5 separate regions of the Homo sapiens genome follow, and all the other regions are linked to region 1. The links are contacts of gene promoters, found by promoter capture Hi-C in blood cells and fetal thymus (Javierre and others, 2016). All regions are on one chromosome and are shown on one strand. The core of a region is centred on a gene start or on the middle of the fragment in contact, and the rest is flanking DNA. Distances in the headings are between cores, read along the strand shown. Region 1 holds the start of NBAS (NBAS subunit of NRZ tethering complex). Region 2 has its middle 420 kb from the start of NBAS. Region 3 has its middle 400 kb from the start of NBAS. Region 4 overlaps NBAS (NBAS subunit of NRZ tethering complex). Region 5 overlaps NBAS (NBAS subunit of NRZ tethering complex).

Region 1 (3,218 bases), core at 271-2,770:
AGCATTCTGAAACATTACTGCAATTAACCAATGAGTGTTAAGGAGTGGAAACTTATCTAACCAGCTGCCTCAGCAACAGCTTCCTAGCTGCATAACCCAAAAAATATTCACATTAAGACAAACTAAGTACTTGAAATTAAACAGTAATATATGCAGATCTCTACCCGTCTACAAAATAAATTATTCATGATAAGCACAAACTGCAGTGGGAAGGAGGCTACAGAGGAAAAAAATACAAACTTTGGGCTGAAAAATGAGTCGTTTCTCCAGCAAAGAAACACTCAGAAAAAATGTAAGATAACTCACATGGGCTGGACTACATAATCTTTAATAAAGGTTCTTTTCGATCTGGCTGCTTCCTCTGGGTCTAAAACAGTAACTGGCACGTGTTAAGCACTCAATAAATATCTGTTAAATAAACATGGATCCAAAAAATAATAATAATAAAAAATAAAATAAAATAAACATGGATCCATGGTTCCTACTCTTCATCACAGACCCGGGAGGCCTTCACTACCAAACAACTGATAATCCCAAGATCCAGTCCATAAATTATCAACCTCTATAACCCTTCTGTAGCGGAGATCCCAATCCCAGTCAGCAGCTCTTTACTCTGCACTTCCGTGGCATTTTGCTCACATCGCTAACTATAGCGCATAAAACGCTAGGTTATGAAAAACGTTTACGGGACTGTCTCCCCTCTAGACGAGAAGCTCCACGAAAACATATTCATCTCTGTATCCTTAGCACCTAGCACAGCACCTGTGACACCGAGACAGACGAACGGACACGCACACCCTTATTAAATGCTCTTTTATTGAAACACACAAGACCTGGCGCGATCCAGCCCCCAGTATGGGTAAAGGCTCAGATTCTGCGCTCTGCACCAGCCTGGCAGATGCTGCAGACTGTAAGGTCCTGGAAAATTCTCCCATCGCAGTTGAGCGTCGGCCCAGACTAGCCCTAGCCAGACCGCGAGAAGGGACCACTGAGGGTCCAGATAGGAGAAAGGACCCTCGAGTCCAGCGCTGTGCCTTCCCCTCCTAATACAGAGAGCGACACTAACAATCCCCTCTCCTCCCAATACAGAGAGCGAAACTGAGAACCAAAGTGGGATCGTACGCTCCCCAGAGCACGAAGTTCCAGCCCCCAACAACCGAATTCTGAGCCCAGGAAGAATCTCAGGGACCACCACCCCACCCCGCCCTAGACCCCCGCTAGCCCAAGGTGCCGTTGCCAAGGCGACCGCACAAGCCAACCGGCCCTAGTCCCCCACCCACCCGTCTCCACTCCCCTACGTGGCTCCTGCTACGTGGCTCTACCCACGAAGCGCCCGCGCCAAGCTGGCTGCTGCTGTAGATGGGCCTGGTTCACCTGTACTTCAGTCTCCGGTGGCCACTCGGTGTTGACCAACAAGTCATAGAGAATCGTCTCCTCCTCACCCTCTGCAGTGCCTGGACTCAAAGCCGGCCCTGACTCGGGGGCCGCCATGTTCGCCGAGGACTCAGGCAGCGGAGGAGTGTCTCTACGGAATCCCTCACAGGACAAGCTTCTCTATCCGCGGCCGCTTTTGTTTCACGGCAAGGAAATGCTAGGTTAACCCTTTTATGAGTAGGAAGGACAGGGACTATTGCTTGTCTTGGGAACGACTTGTGTCCCGGTCCTGATACACTCCTTGTTCATTAATCTACATGAGATCGGCCAAGTCATTGAGCCTCTCTTATAACTCAGTTTCCATAAAACAGAAATGGTAAAGGTACCCCACTGAAATGCTAATGTTCATTTGTATATTCTTTGCCTAACACGTAGAGAGAGTTCAAACAGTGGTTTTAAAATAAACAACTAAAGTTATCCAATGAAAGGTAGCAGAGGAAGGATGCTACAGGAGCTCAGAAAAGGCAACGAAGGCCAGAGTCTGCAGGGATTTCCTGGAGGACGTGGAGCTTGTCCCTGCGTCTTTAACAATAGGCAGAATTTTAATCTACTGGAGAAGCATTTCAAGTAGCGGGAAATGGAATGAGCAGAGACAGAGGCAGAAATACAGAGTTGAAAGAACTCTTTCAACGTGTCGCCAGTGAGTGACGACTTTCTCAGTGTGGGAGTAAAAGAATTTACCAAGACAGTGGTAGATAAAGAAAGACAGATTAAAGAAAGTATGAAAGTTCGTTGCCAGGGAGCAGCGGGCCGACTCAGCAGAGGAGGAGCTCATTGCTAGGAAACAAAGGCTTGTTGAGAATTTTATAGACTGGAACTTGGAGTGATTGATAACACCAGGTAGCAGGGAGTTAACTTGCTTTTTTTTTTTCTTTCTTTCTTTTTTTTTTTTTTTTTTTGTCAGCTGAAGTGTTTCAGAAATTGAGGCATTTGAAGGTAAGCAGGAAGTTTGTGAGTTAAGTACGTTATCTGGGTAGAAGGGCCATATGTCCTGGGCCATAAAGAAAAGTAGACCTATGGCTTATTTGTTTCTTCCTTTTGTTTATATGTTTTGGACCATGAAGAAAGACAGACGTATAGCTAATTTGCCTTATCTCTTTGTTTTTCCCTGCTCCCACTAGCCTGCCTTTTTTTTTTTCCTAATTAGTACTCAACAAGACGGGTGAATAGAACCCAAGTTGAGAAAGGGTGTAGGGGCAATAAAGTTGAAATAATAGGTTGAGAACCCGCATGGAGGGAGCGAAAAGGTCAACCCCATTTGTTCATTCATTCATTCATTCAACAAATACCTCTTTGTGGACAGTTATAAGCAGAGCCTACTGTAACATGAATGAATATATACTGTACAAAGTATTACACTGTTTCACATCAAAAGAAACACAAATACTGAATATCCCTTGAGATAATTATATTCATGATATCCATCAAGATGCATTAGGCGGTGATGCAATTAAAAGCCTCTGCTGGGAAGCCTCTAACCAGCTCCCATTTCTCTCAAAGTTTAATGACCTCAAAGCCCTACGTCATCTGCCTGCTCCCCTAAATCTCACACCTCATTTCCTGCTCCCCCTACTACCTTCAGCCACACTGGCTCTATTTCTGAACACACCAGACACACATCAACTTCAGGAGTTCTGCAAAGCCTGTCCCCTCCACTTGGAAGGCTTTCTACCAGATGTTTACCTGGTTCCTCCCTTATCTCCTTCAAGTTTTTGCTCAAATGTCGTCTCTCTCTGAAGCCTACCTTGACTGCTCATTTTTAAATTTGCAATGACCATTCTCCA
Region 2 (3,218 bases), core at 455-2,954, 420 kb before region 1:
CAGGGCTTGACCAGGTACTCAGCCCCTTTCTACAATTCTTTATCTCACTTAAGGCTCACAAACAACCCTGTGAAATCGATTACGATCCTTCTTTTACAAACAAGAATTAGAGGCTCATTGAGCCCGTGGTCCTGCAGCAAGTCCGCGTCTGCAGAGCTGAGATCCACCTGGAGTTTGTCTGACTCTGAAGCCCATACCCTCAGCACCTTCATGTTGCAGGGGCCGCTGCAAATCCAACACTGGTTGACGGAGCAGTTTTGATCCTGAGGCCCTTGTGATTTCACTGAAGAGTCAGTCGAACATGAAACTCAGAACAAACACAAACAACTTAGAAACAAGGGCATGTCTGTGAGATGGGTCTCTGAATGGACTGGATGAATTCTCCACCCACGGGCTTCGTCCTGCCCTTAGAGCCAAACAGAGCACGTGTGTCCCTCTGCAGCCCTTTGGAGGTTTGCAAGTGGTGGTTACATAACCTCCACACACCCCTCGTATGATGGTTAATAATGAGTGTCAACTTGATTGGATTGAAAGATACAAAGTATTGATCCTGGGTGTGTCTGTGAGGGTGCTGCCACAGAGATTAACATTTGAGTCAGTGGGCTGGGAAAAGTAGACCTACCCTTAATCTGAGTGGGCACCATCTAATCAGCTGCCAGCATGGCTAGAATATATGCAGGCAGAAAAATGTGAAAAGGGAGACTCGCCTAGCCTCCCAGCCTACATCTTTCTCCTGTGCTGAATGCTTCCTGCCCTCAAACATCAGACTTCAAGTTCTTCAGTTTTGGAACTCGGACGGGCTCTCCTTGCTCCTCAGACCACAGATAGCCCCTTGTGGGACCTTGTGGTTGTGTGAGTTAATACTATATATATATATTATCCTATATATAAAAATATATATATATATATATATCTCCCATTAGTTCTGTCCCTCTAGAGAAACCTGACTAATACACCTTGTCACATTGTTGTGACTCCACAGCCTGGCCCCCAGGGCCCACCCACGGTCCCTCCCCAACACATATGCACACACAGTGTCAAAAGACAACATGCATTCCACAAATTGTGTAGCATGGCTGTGTCCCAGCTCCTACAGCCCGAGTATGGCTGCCTTGGCAAACCTTCCTGAACTATATGCACCAAGGTAATTTCCAGGCTCAACCCAGGAAAGCCTGACACAGACCAAAGTGTCAAATATGTTCTCCATCCCCATCAACCTCCCAGCCTATTAAATAAAATATAATGTTTGTTTCCTGAAAGAATGACTTTTATGTTTGGCTTGTGTTTATTACTATTGATTCAGATACAATTGCATTCATAAAATGTGTATTGAGCAACTTCTCTGCGTGAGGCACTTTTTAGGTCCTTTGGGGAAGACAGGAGTCGCTACACAATCCTGGCCCTCAAGCAGCTCCCATCCAAGGCAGAGGTACTTCTGAGTGGCCACATTGCTGGCCACTTTTTATCGAACACATCACTACAGCACACATCCACTGGCTTTGTTTTTGCATATCTATCCTCTAAAAAAAAGGCAGCAGAATAGAGGAGAAAGTGCATGGGCTTCGCAGTCAGCTCTGGGTTCAAATCCAAGCTTTGCCAACTCAGAAACAGTCCCATATGTTACGATACAGGTGGTTGCGTTGGTTTATGAGATCTGGTTTTAGCACATGCATGTTTTGAAGGAATGGGGCAGGGCAACTTTCTCACAGTTAAAGAGAAGGCCATAGCAATATATAAAGCCTTAAGGTAAAAGCTGACAATTTGCAGAAGTGCCTTTCTTTACTGCAAAGTGGCTGGCTTAGAGGCTACTAGAACTACTAAGCTTTCCATGAGGTTAAGCTATTTGGTGTAGCTATGAGTAGAGATAATCCTCCTGTAGTAAAACAGTGGGCTAATGAAGACGGCCACACCCTCAATCCAATTTTTAATTTAGATAGAAAGCAGTCTCCACAACCTAATCTCAAAAGAGGACGTACACATCCCATGGCTTAAGGTGGCAAAGAATAGACTGCTTGTGTTGCTGGTACACATACCAGTGACATTCTACATACTCTGCTGGTGTTTTCATTACTCATTTTTAGTTGGTTTTGTCAGCTTTGCGGTTACTAGATTTTGAGTGGCTTGCTTTAACTATTTTCCTCTAAGCCCTGTGCTTTTACACGCAATCTTAAAGAACCCAAGGATGTTTAGGGCCACACATATGCCATTACAGCAAAAATGCATTGAGATGTATGTGTTTGTTTGTATGTGTGTGTGTGTGTGTGTGTGTGTGTGTGTGTCTTCATGCCTAGTGTATGGTGGGTGATTTATAAAGGAAAGCTTTTATTATGGTTTAATCTTCACTCTGAACCTGGAGTTCCAGTTGAGACCTGGTCACTGTGAGACTCAGACCAGCACTGGCTGCTGGTCCTAGAGGCTGCAGGAAGAGGAGCATCTGAGTCCCAGGCTTGTCTCTGCCTGGACTGGGCAGACCACTGGGCACTGAGTCACTGGCTCCTGCCCTCTTACTGCAGCTCCCACTCCTGCTGCAAAAGTATGATGGAATTTTACTCCAAACAGGAGCTTCTCAAAATGAGGTACACCAACCAGTAGCCTCGGCAGCACCTGGCAACTTTTAGAAATGAGAATTCTCAGGCTTGACCTACTGGATCAGAAATTCTGGGGTGGGGGGCCCAGAACATGAGTTATAACAAGCTCTATGAAGGATTCTGATGCATGCTCGAAGTTGAGAGCCACCCATCTAAACATAAGGTGAATGCTTTCTTCGAGACTCCCTGAGTTGGAGAAAACACTCTTTCATTCATTCATTTTTCCATTTCTCATTGGAAAAATATCTATTGAGTATCTAGCGTGAACTTGATACTGTTCTAAGTGTTGAGAATGAGTAAAACAGAGAAACATCTTTGCCACCTTGGAACAACAGAAAGCAATGGTTAAGATCTCAAAGTCAGGGGCTGGCTGGCCTGGTATGAATCTCAACTGTGCCACTCACTAGCTGTGTGACTCAAGGCAAGTTACTTAAATGCTTGTGCTTCAGTGTCCCCATTTGTGCAGTGAGATGATAGTGGTCCCTATTTCATAGAGTTGTGGTAAAGAATAAATAGACTATGGTGTTTAAAGCCCTGTTTGGTACCTAGTACGCACTTAAAATGGCAGTTATTCATGACACATATTTAAGGATGGCAATAGTGGTCATCTTGAGTTAAATCTGATTTCAG
Region 3 (3,218 bases), core at 297-2,796, 400 kb before region 1:
TTATGTTATGCATTTTTTACCAGTCATACACACACACACGCGTGCACACACACACACACACACACACACACACTGCTTGGAACAATGGAAACAGTAGGGATTTTAGTCTGAGAAACCATGGCTTCAAGTCTCAGTTCTGCCACCTACTGGCTATGCAATTTGGGGATATTGTTTCATCTCTGTGAGCCTCACAATGCTCTGTAAGATGCATTTCAAAAATCTAGCAATAAGATTATTGTGAAGATTAGCTATATTGCATGTTATGTACAAAGCAGCCACCAATCCAGACAGGATGTAAAAGGCTTTGATTATCATGCTAAGGAGCTTATCCTGTGGATCATGGAGAGCCGTTCAAGGGCTTTAAGTTGGGGATGACAAGGTTGGAGTTCTGCTTTAAAAAGATGGCTCTGGTGATTGCAGGGAGGAGATCCTGGAGTGGAGAGACGAGAGGTAAGGAGACCAGGTAGAAAATGCCAGGTTCAGATGAACACCGGGGTCTCAGGGACTCTTTCCACAGTAGTAGACAGGGCAGCTTAAGAAGGCATTCAAACAGACAGGACTTGGCCGACATACTGGGGTGGCAGGCGATGAGAGAGAGAGGCTCAAAGATGCTTGAGCAAGATCCCTACGCATGGACACACCTGTGGACGCAGCAGGGAGGCTTAAGGGACACCCCGGGGCTGGGAGGAGACACATCTTGGCTCATAGAAGAAGGAGATTTCAGACAACTAAAGCTGCTGCACCAGGAACAAGCTGCTTTGTGAGACAACCTTGGCAGAGAATGCAGGACCTGCCAGGAAACTGAGCAAGAAGTCCCAGTGTGGGCGGGGGGAGGGGGGGGGGCAGGAGGCTGGACCAGGTGATCCCCCAGGGCCCCTTCAATCCACAATCTCTGATTGCCTGCACCCCACAAGGGAATCCCCCATTGACCAATCTCTTCCTATTTTCTTTCCAGGGAGAGTTTGCAAGGATTAAATTTTGGCGCACAGATTGAGCTCAGACAGATGTTTGTTTAAGTATGGGGGAAACTGGAATTTCTACCAACTGGGTGAGGTCAGCTGGGATAAGGAAGTCTTTTTCTAAACAGGAACATCCATTCTCAGGGTGAGGATGATAAAAGTTCTATTTCAGTAAGAAGGTAACATGAAAGGGTTCAGAGAACTCTTTTGCCTAACAGATCCTGGATACATGGGGTGGATTATCCATTCTATACAAGGAGATAACTGGATGCTGCCTCTCTGGCTGTGGTCAATCCTTTATCCAAGTTCATGGTCATGGAGACTATTAGCATAGTCGAAGAAAGCCTGAATTCTCAAGGAGTGTGGAGTTGAGCAAAAGTTGGGCTTTGGAATCAGAATGATGTGAGTTCAAATCCTGACTCTCACTCTTAGGGACAACTTACGCAAGTTTATTAACCCCTCTCAATTGGTTTTCTCATATATAAGTGGGGGATACTATCTGTTTCCCTTGCTGGAGTGGTTCGTGGCTAACCGCTAAAGTCTATGAGAGACTTTGAACACATATAGGCGCTCAGTATAGTGCACCTTATCTCATTGCTAGTACTAGCAAAGAGCAAAATGTTTCCCGGTTAAAGCAAAGGTGATGTAAAAAAACGAGCTAAAATCAAATTGACCAAATGTCAGGAGGATGTCTTTTCCTGTCTCCTAGGAGAAAGTAAGTTTTAAGTAACAGGACAAACTTGGGAAAAGAGAGATGAAGGAAGCAAGTGTGGCATGGAGAACGCTAAGTAACCAGTACTGCTGAGGAGAACTTCAAGTGTCCAGAAGAGAAAGTTCACCCCTTTTCTAAGGGAGAAGCAGGCCAAGTTTGCAAAGCACTTCTGTCCTGGCTACACGGTGGCCTCCACACCTGAGCCTGGGTTGTTTCACCCCGGGCCTGCAGCTCTGCATCCAGATGGGGGAACTTGCAGTGGCTTGAGCTCCACCCAGCCAGGGCAGCTTTTCTCAGGCATTAGGAGATCCACCTAAGTCTCCTGATTTGCAAACCAAGTGGTTGCTGTCCTCCCAGAAAGTCATAACCCTAAGGGTCCTGATCTCTCAAGCAGCTCAGGTGTAGTAGGGAGTCCTTGAAAATTCAAGTGTCAAAAGAGATAAACAGAGCACAAGAGGGAGATTAGGGATGTCACCTTAGGATTTTAGAGTCTACTTCCTGACCACACTACGTGCAGATGGTCAATACCTATAGTCTACCTTCCCTCAGTGTTCCTCTCCTCCAGCCATTCCCCTTATCTTCAAGTTCCCTTACTCTCCTCCTGACACTATTGTTGTTTGAGCCTAACAACAGCAGAGAGGTGTGGACAGAAAACAGATACAGAGAAAGCCAAATAAAGTTGCTTAAAGTCGTATTAGCCAGGCCAGCTCTCAAACCCAGACCCCTGACTCCAATCCAGTGTTTTCTTCCAAACAGCCCTGCCTCCGCAACAGGCGCGTTGTTTGTCAAGACAACACGCATCCCATCTGCCGGCCTAAGATTGACCCATGGCCGAGTAGAAATTCCAGTGTGGCTCCCTCCCCTTTCACTAGTGAAGCATCAGGATACCCCCAGCTTCAGAACCCCCCTAGGTCATCTGAACCACACATCCTAGCTCCCTCATCACCTGACCATTGCTGAAGGCTGGTTTTGGAAATCTTCGTCTTGCGCCTGGAGGCAGCTTTCCACAACTCTGACAGCCACCGGGGGAGCAGAAACTCACACTCCAGTAGTCTAACACCAGCATCAAAGTCAGAGTTATTTTTCATTTTGCTAGCAATAGTTTGATGTGCCTGATTCCCGTCTCACAGCTGTGAGCAGGTTGCAACACCAAAGCTCTCCAGTTTGCAGTGGTAGTCGCAAGTCTAAGAACTCTGGATTCATTAGAACAAAAGGAAACCAAGCCTTCCTTCTCGTATCTACCGCTGCTGGTGCGGAGAAAACCCACAATATGGGTACTCAAACAAGAAGCCTCCTTTTCTCCCTTTCAAGCTCTGGAACACCCATTAGTTCATTTTCCTATTTTCTCATTGTATGTGCCATCTTCAGTTTATAATGAGTTTGAAGTTATTAAGAAGAAATACTGAATTCCCAGCTGTTGGAGCTAAATTAGACTACTGAGCTGCTGCATTTGCAGCTAACTGGAGAAAAATGCAGGCTCTCTCCAAAGAACAGGGCAAACTTGCATTTGAATGCTCTTCTGCTACATTTATCATAATGAGTTTTCT
Region 4 (3,218 bases), core at 300-2,799, 320 kb before region 1:
AAATTAGCCGGGCGTGGTGGCGGGCGCCTGTAGTCCCAGCTACTCAGGAGGCTGCGGCAGGAGAATGGCGTGAACCCGGCAGGCGGAGGCTGCAGTGAGCCGAGATCGCACCGCTGCACTCCAGACTGGGAGACAAAGTGAGACTCCGTCTCAAAAAACAAACAAAAAAAATGCTGACAGGGGACATTTTCCTAATCCTATATAAATATTGATAAAAGAGATCTTTAGGAAAGTACTATTTCCAATGAAATTGGAAATGCACTGCAAATGCAGCTTTCAAACAAGTTCCGTAGTCCCCACTTCTTACCAGATTTCTGGCTCTAAGCCATTAAAAAAATCAGAGCCCACCATTGACTGACAAGTATTAATTATGTTACTGTGTTTGCCCACAAATAAACTGTTAACTCCTCCCTGTGATTCAGAAGTACAAAATACTAGATCTGTGTTTTGTTCAACAGACCACCCCTCCCTTCATACATGTAGATGAAGAGACTGAGCTCCAGGAGGCTCAGTGGCATGTTAGGGGTCATCGTGTACAAGAGAAGAGTAAAAACTGGAATCCAGAACACTTGGTTACCAAGTGCAGTGCTCCCTGCCACCTTACATTACACAGCTTCCACTCAACGATTTCTGCATCTTCACAGGCTCCAAGTTTATTAGAGAGTGCATGCTGGTTGAATGCTGAATGACAAAATCAAGACTGAATAAGAGTTTATAGCAGAGTGAATCTTTTATTATATTCATATTTGTTTCCCCAAGAAATATAAATTTCAGAAATTACTTGGCTATATCAGCTAGCCAAATGTATACACTCTTCCTAGCCTATTGTGTGATATGGAAGAGTTTCAAAAACAGACTGGCTACAGAATAGGGATAGGCAGCTAATTCACATGGGCAGGAAGTAGGGTCCTGGATGAAACAATGGGTCCCTATTCTCTTAAAGAGGTCCAGATGAGATCATTGTTGTCCAAGTCTTGACTCGCCTTTGTCAACCAACCATGGAATGAATATATGGTAAGCAGGAAGAACAATACATTCAGAAAAGTTGTGTTTAATATTTACTACTGGTGTGACTTTAGGAAACTTGACAAAGTGCTTCAAGCTTTAGTTTCTTCATCTACAAAATGAAAAAAAATGACCCCTGCTGCACAACTTTAAGAACTTAAGACAATATGTAAAACAGTCAGCACAGTGCCTTGCCCATAGTAAGTGCTCAGTAAACAGATGCTGACATTTAATTTGACCAATGGATAAAATACATGTGCCATCCTCTCCCGTTGGTTTGTCATCTTCCTAATAAATTTGTCACATGTTTCCCTTTTAGAAAAACCTTTTTTTTAAATAAGCTCCCCAAATTTCTCAGCACGGAACTCAAGAACCTTCACAAACTGGTCCCTAGCTAAGTCTCTGGCTTCGTGGTATAATTGTAACTCGAACCCTAAGCTACAGCCACACTGACTCTTTGTCATTACCTGGTGCTTTTACTTGCCGTCTTGTCTCAAGGAAATGCTCCTTTCCCTCTTTTTTGCAAGGCAAATTCCCAGTCATGTTTCATTATCGAGACACTTGGAGTCAATCTAGCCTCTACAAGCATTCCACTGGCAAGTCCTCTGCTCCAACATCCAAGTGCATAACCCACCTACTTTGTATGTATAAACTGTCTCGTCAGCATTACTGAGTCTAGCCCTCACACTGAAGTCTATGCTTTCAGAAAACTAGCTGTAGGTTATGAGAGACAGGTGTAACTTTTTCAAGAGTTTAAATTGTTTGACTTCATCACTACAGTGTCATTAGAAAATTTTCTATTTAAAATAATCCTTCAAGAGAACTAAATATTTCAAAATAACTATGTAACCTGACACTGAACAAGGCAGAGTGTAAATAAATGCAATCCTAAGTTAATTTTCCTGAGCCAGCTAGAACCTCTAAGAAGCAGAATGATATTATGATTAAAAATATGTAAGGTGTTTTATTTGACTAGGCGTTTTACTTAATTCAAGCTTTTTATTACTATACTTTGTAAAAACAGGTTCATTGCTGAAAGACTCCAGGGTATGGTTAAAAAATATATGTTTAACACTGAATTTACATCTAGTAGATTTATTTTCTTTAAACTGTTCCATAATGGAAGGAACAGAAGTAAAAGAAAGAAATGATTAAAAAAAAATGTACCAGAGTAAAAAAAATGGCAATTTCTTTACTGTATCTAGTGGCCCCACGGTACCATTATTCTTAACATTCTTTTCTTAAGCCCACAGCATTAACATGTCATTCATGTATATCATTACTATAATATCAAACCAAGATGATATTTTTAACTGTTCCCTGCAGCAATTAGTAGTTGCTATGAAAAATAATAATGGATTTTTTGAAATAAAGATAAGTGGCTAAACCGTTTCATCAGTTAATAAATAGGTACTAAACATCTACTTTCCAAGACCTGTAAAAAATGAGATAAAAACATGAACCAGGCTTACAAAGAAACCACATATATCATGGGAGATAATATAGTGAGAAGGGGGTGGAGGGACTGAGGAATCATGGATGACATCAGCAAATCTTATTGGGTCAAGCTTCAAAATATATCTAGGTTCTAACCACTTCCTACCACCTTCACTGCCACCACTCAGTTCCCAGCCACCATCATCTCTCATAAAGAGCACTGCAACGGTTCTAACTTGTCTCCCAGTGTGACAGAGATAGTGGTGCTCACCAAACACAAGCATTCCAACTCTTCCACTGCATTTGTCAATTCCCTTGTAGTTAGGATGAGCTGTGTTCCAGCCAGTGAAATCTGAGCAGAAGTGACATATACCATTTCAGAGCCGGGCAATAAAAAAACCCACATGGCTCACTATCCAGTTTCCCTTTTTTAACCACAACAATTAAGGAGAACATGGGGCCCAGATGGTGCCAATACAAAATGATGGGGCTTCCATCAGCCTGGATCCTTAAGTGACTTTGTGGTACAGGCCCCTTTGCAGTCTTTTATCGGATTAGGTGCATGAGAGACTATCTACCGAAAGCCTCTACAAACCTTAGCTTATTCTGACACACAACAGGTACCAAGAGGGAGGCAATATGTGGCTTTGGTTTTCAGATATCAGGCAATGAAAAAAAAAAAAAGATTAGAAAAATACCGTAATCTATGATATGCTATAAAAAATACTTAATAAAACTATTATCTGTGGTAACTTGGGGGGCAGATCATACCCCTA
Region 5 (3,218 bases), core at 227-2,726, 260 kb before region 1:
TCCTTTTATATTCGGTATGTAGGGAGGGATATCTCTTAAAAATACAAGGCTCTTGATTGGACCAATGTAGACACAGCTCCCACTACATGTAAGACTTGCTGTTATAACTTGGCTTTGTGTCCCCACCCAAATCTCATCTCGAATTGTAATCCCCATGTGCTGAAAAAGGCCCTGGTGGGAGGTAACTGAATCATGGGGGCAGACTTCCCCCCTTGCTGTTCTCGTGATGGAGTTCTCATGACATCTGGTTGTTTAAAAGTGTGTGGCACTTCCCACCTTGCTCTCTTTCTCCTGCTCCACCATGGTAAGATGTGCTGGCTTCCCCATCGCCTTCTGCCATGATTGCCAAGTTTTCTGAGGCCTCCCAGCCATGCTTCCTGTTAAGCCTGTGGAGCTATGAGTCAATTAAACCTCTTTTCTTCATAAATTACCCAGTCTCAGTTAGTTCTTTATAGCAGTGTGCGAGTGAACTAATACACTTGCCATTAGAGTCCTTTTACAAATGACAGATTTTCAATGATAGATTTAATGCTGTCATTCCGTATTGTTCCAGGTAGACATTTTTCCATATATTCCTCCTCTCATGCCATATATATGTGCTTGTGTCTGTGTGTGTGTGTCTGTGTGTGTGTGTAAATATAAACACCCATTAGGTTTTCAACTGGATATTCTATTTGAGCCGCTTGCTTTTTCTTCTCTAATGATAACGGTGTTTTAGAATCACAAGCAACAATACCATTTTCTGTTAAACTCCCTGAAATAAATATACTTCCTTTTAAAATTCTGTCTTAATAAAGTGGTGAGGCTGGGCACGGATGCTTGTGCCTGTATGTAATCCCAGCACTTTGGGAGGCCAAGGTGGGAGGACTGCTTGAGCCCAGGGGTTTGGGACCAGCCTGAGTGACATAGTGAGACCCCATCTCTACGAGAAATAAGTAAGAAGGTGGTGGTTAGGGAAATTCTATTAATTTTTTGATAACAGGTTGTAAGTATATACAAGTTTATAGCTCATCAAATATTTGTGTATAAAAAAATTTTCAGTACTTCAATTTATTGTATAAAACATGATACTGAGAAGAACTTACAAAAATGAGAGGAGACAATTTCTCACAAAAGCTTCTAAGAAAAAATTACTTACAGGGGAAAAACACAGGAGTTGGCATCAATGACCTGGATTACTAGTTTTTCCCTCTGAGCTGTAAATTTTCCATTTCTAAAACTGAAGCAATTTCTTCTGAATCCCCATAAAGACTAAATGAAACTGGATGAATGAGCATTTGTAAGTTCTAGCTCCCTATGCAAATTATTTTCTGATCATTGCCACTGGTACTTTCTATCTCTTCCTCAAGAAATTTTACTGGTTATGATTACTTCCGATATTCAAATTAAATTTGAGTAAAAATTCTTCCCCTGAGCTTATCACTACTTCTCCCAAAATATTCCAAAGCATCTCCTACTCATTCCAACACTGCATTTCATACGTTCATTTATTCACTGCACAAGTACACAACAATTAAAGTTTCGAAAGCATTTTCACGTGATTTTCATTTGACCCTCCTATCAAGCTGGGGATGTGCACGGGAAACACTGTTTCTTGTTTTAGAGACACGCCCATTTGTAGTTGAAGCATCCGGAGCTGTAGTCTTGCAGCTGGAGAGTGACTCAAGCCACCTGGCTTCCCACCCGCTTGCCCCACACTGCTGAGCAAGTCTCCATGAGTTGCTCTACATCCAGCTTCACACCCAGAATCACTCGGAAGTCTTGGTGTTCAGAGTACACTCAGACTTCCCTCCCTCTTTCCAGCATCTGACTTCAGTGACATGACGCATGGGTATGAAAGCTTTTAGCCTCTAGGAAGCTTATGAAGAGCTCTCTGGGCAGCTTCAAAATCTTCCATATTCAGTATTCAAAGTGATATGGCAAAATAGCACAGGCTGCAAAAACTAACAGCATAAAAAGCCATTCATAATTTAAAAAGGAAATTGTGAAGAGTTAAATTACTTGATTTTCCCCTCAAAACTTGGCAATGCAGTTCTTCAGGGAGGTGAATAAAGTATGATTTCTTTAAAGAATATGGTCAAATCCCCGTAAAAACAAAATGTGCATAAATATTCATGACAACAAAATGCTCAATGACTTAATCTACTGCTTACTACTAGAGGTAATAAATCTATTCTGGTTTAATAGTCTCTACATTTCTTGGTAATATTATTTCGAAAGTTTTAAACAGGTGGTGTGTTTCCCCTTTAGGGTTGTTATTTTGCTTGAGATAATTTTCTACTTAGTATTTTCAATTAGTAGCTTAAAAAAACGCATTTTAGAAATAGTCTACCATAAAATTCTGAATGTCATCCCCCGCTGAGTTTGCTTCCCTAGTCTATAAAACTAAAGGACGTTTCCATTTTTAACCGATTTTACCTTCTGAACACTTTTTTAAAAGAATGCTGCAAAGATCACACTTCAAAATACATTTACAACAATTACAAAGGTAAGATATGAGGGAAAAAAAATCAAGATACAGAACAATGTGCACAGCCTACTTACATCTGTCTAAAAAATAGTTATATAAGTATGTACAGCCATCAACTATCTCTGGATGGATACAAATGGGAAACACTGACTTATTATTATATACTATTTTCAACACTTGAGTTTTGGGGTCACATGTGTATTTTTTAAAAACGTAAAAATGAGTTAATTAGAACAAATACTAGAAGAGAAAATTCTCTCAGACTGACCATTTGCTAACCATCAATGCATAAAATTAAAAGGAAAAATGCAGGCGAGGGAGGCAGCTCCATGGATCATCTGAGAGAGCTGCTGGGCTCCAGGGGGCCTCTGCTGGCTCAGGACGATGCTGCCCTTCAAGATGCACAGGCTGTGCATGAGAAATAAGCCCACAAATTCTATCAATACTTTTATCCAAGGCTAGTAATCTACCTAAGTTAGCATTCCTGCAGCGCATATCCAGGAGGTGGAAAGAGAAAATGTGAAAAGACTGTGGAATTAGAAACAAGTTGAACTGACAACTGAGTGAAAGCTAAGCTTCACTGGGTGTTATTATGTGCAGGCAACAAATTGAAACCACTTTGATTTCAATTTCCAAGATGATTCATCTGGAGTTTGTCATATTTAATTCCAAACTCAGCAGTGCTGTTTTATGCAGAGGAAGATGCTGAAAACACTCAAATAATGAGCCATTAGGCAGTCAATGAAAA

Evidence for each region. Contacts are between HindIII fragments. The CHiCAGO score rates a contact against its expected background, and 5 or more counts as called.
Region 2: a fragment that was not itself captured here is called in contact with the fragment with the promoter of NBAS in region 1 in 2 of 17 cell types (fetal thymus and total CD8 T cells); the score reaches 7.5 in fetal thymus.
Region 3: a fragment that was not itself captured here is called in contact with the fragment with the promoter of NBAS in region 1 in 1 of 17 cell types (fetal thymus); the score reaches 6.7 in fetal thymus.
Region 4: a fragment that was not itself captured here is called in contact with the fragment with the promoter of NBAS in region 1 in 2 of 17 cell types (endothelial precursors and erythroblasts); the score reaches 6.1 in endothelial precursors.
Region 5: a contact is called between a fragment that was not itself captured here and the fragment with the promoter of NBAS in region 1, in 1 of 17 cell types (fetal thymus). The highest score is 5.2, in fetal thymus.

Annotation. Positions count from the first base shown.
Region 1 is chr2:15,559,814-15,563,031 of GRCh38, forward strand. It overlaps NBAS (NBAS subunit of NRZ tethering complex), which reads right to left and starts at 1,521. Exons shown (of 52, transcript NM_015909.4): 1 at 1,375-1,521. The coding sequence starts at 1,491. It overlaps LOC105373440 (a long non-coding RNA gene), which reads left to right and starts at 2,335. Exons shown (of 4, transcript XR_001739297.2): 1 at 2,335-2,370. RefSeq lists an enhancer at 1,311-1,720. The HindIII fragment of the contact is 4,253 bases long and covers 1-1,547 here.
Region 2 is chr2:15,143,156-15,146,373 of GRCh38, forward strand. It overlaps a transcript of NBAS not described here. Among named protein-coding and RNA genes, the nearest start is that of NBAS, 420 kb to the right of the region's middle. The HindIII fragment of the contact is 231 bases long and covers 1,590-1,820 here.
Region 3 is chr2:15,159,760-15,162,977 of GRCh38, forward strand. It overlaps a transcript of NBAS not described here. Among named protein-coding and RNA genes, the nearest start is that of NBAS, 400 kb to the right of the region's middle. The HindIII fragment of the contact is 7,970 bases long and covers 1-3,218 here.
Region 4 is chr2:15,240,465-15,243,682 of GRCh38, forward strand. The region is part of intron 44 of NBAS (NBAS subunit of NRZ tethering complex); the gene reads right to left. Among named protein-coding and RNA genes, the nearest start is that of NBAS, 320 kb to the right of the region's middle. The HindIII fragment of the contact is 898 bases long and covers 1,101-1,998 here.
Region 5 is chr2:15,297,256-15,300,473 of GRCh38, forward strand. All of the region lies in intron 40 of NBAS (NBAS subunit of NRZ tethering complex), which reads right to left. Among named protein-coding and RNA genes, the nearest start is that of NBAS, 260 kb to the right of the region's middle. The HindIII fragment of the contact is 724 bases long and covers 1,115-1,838 here.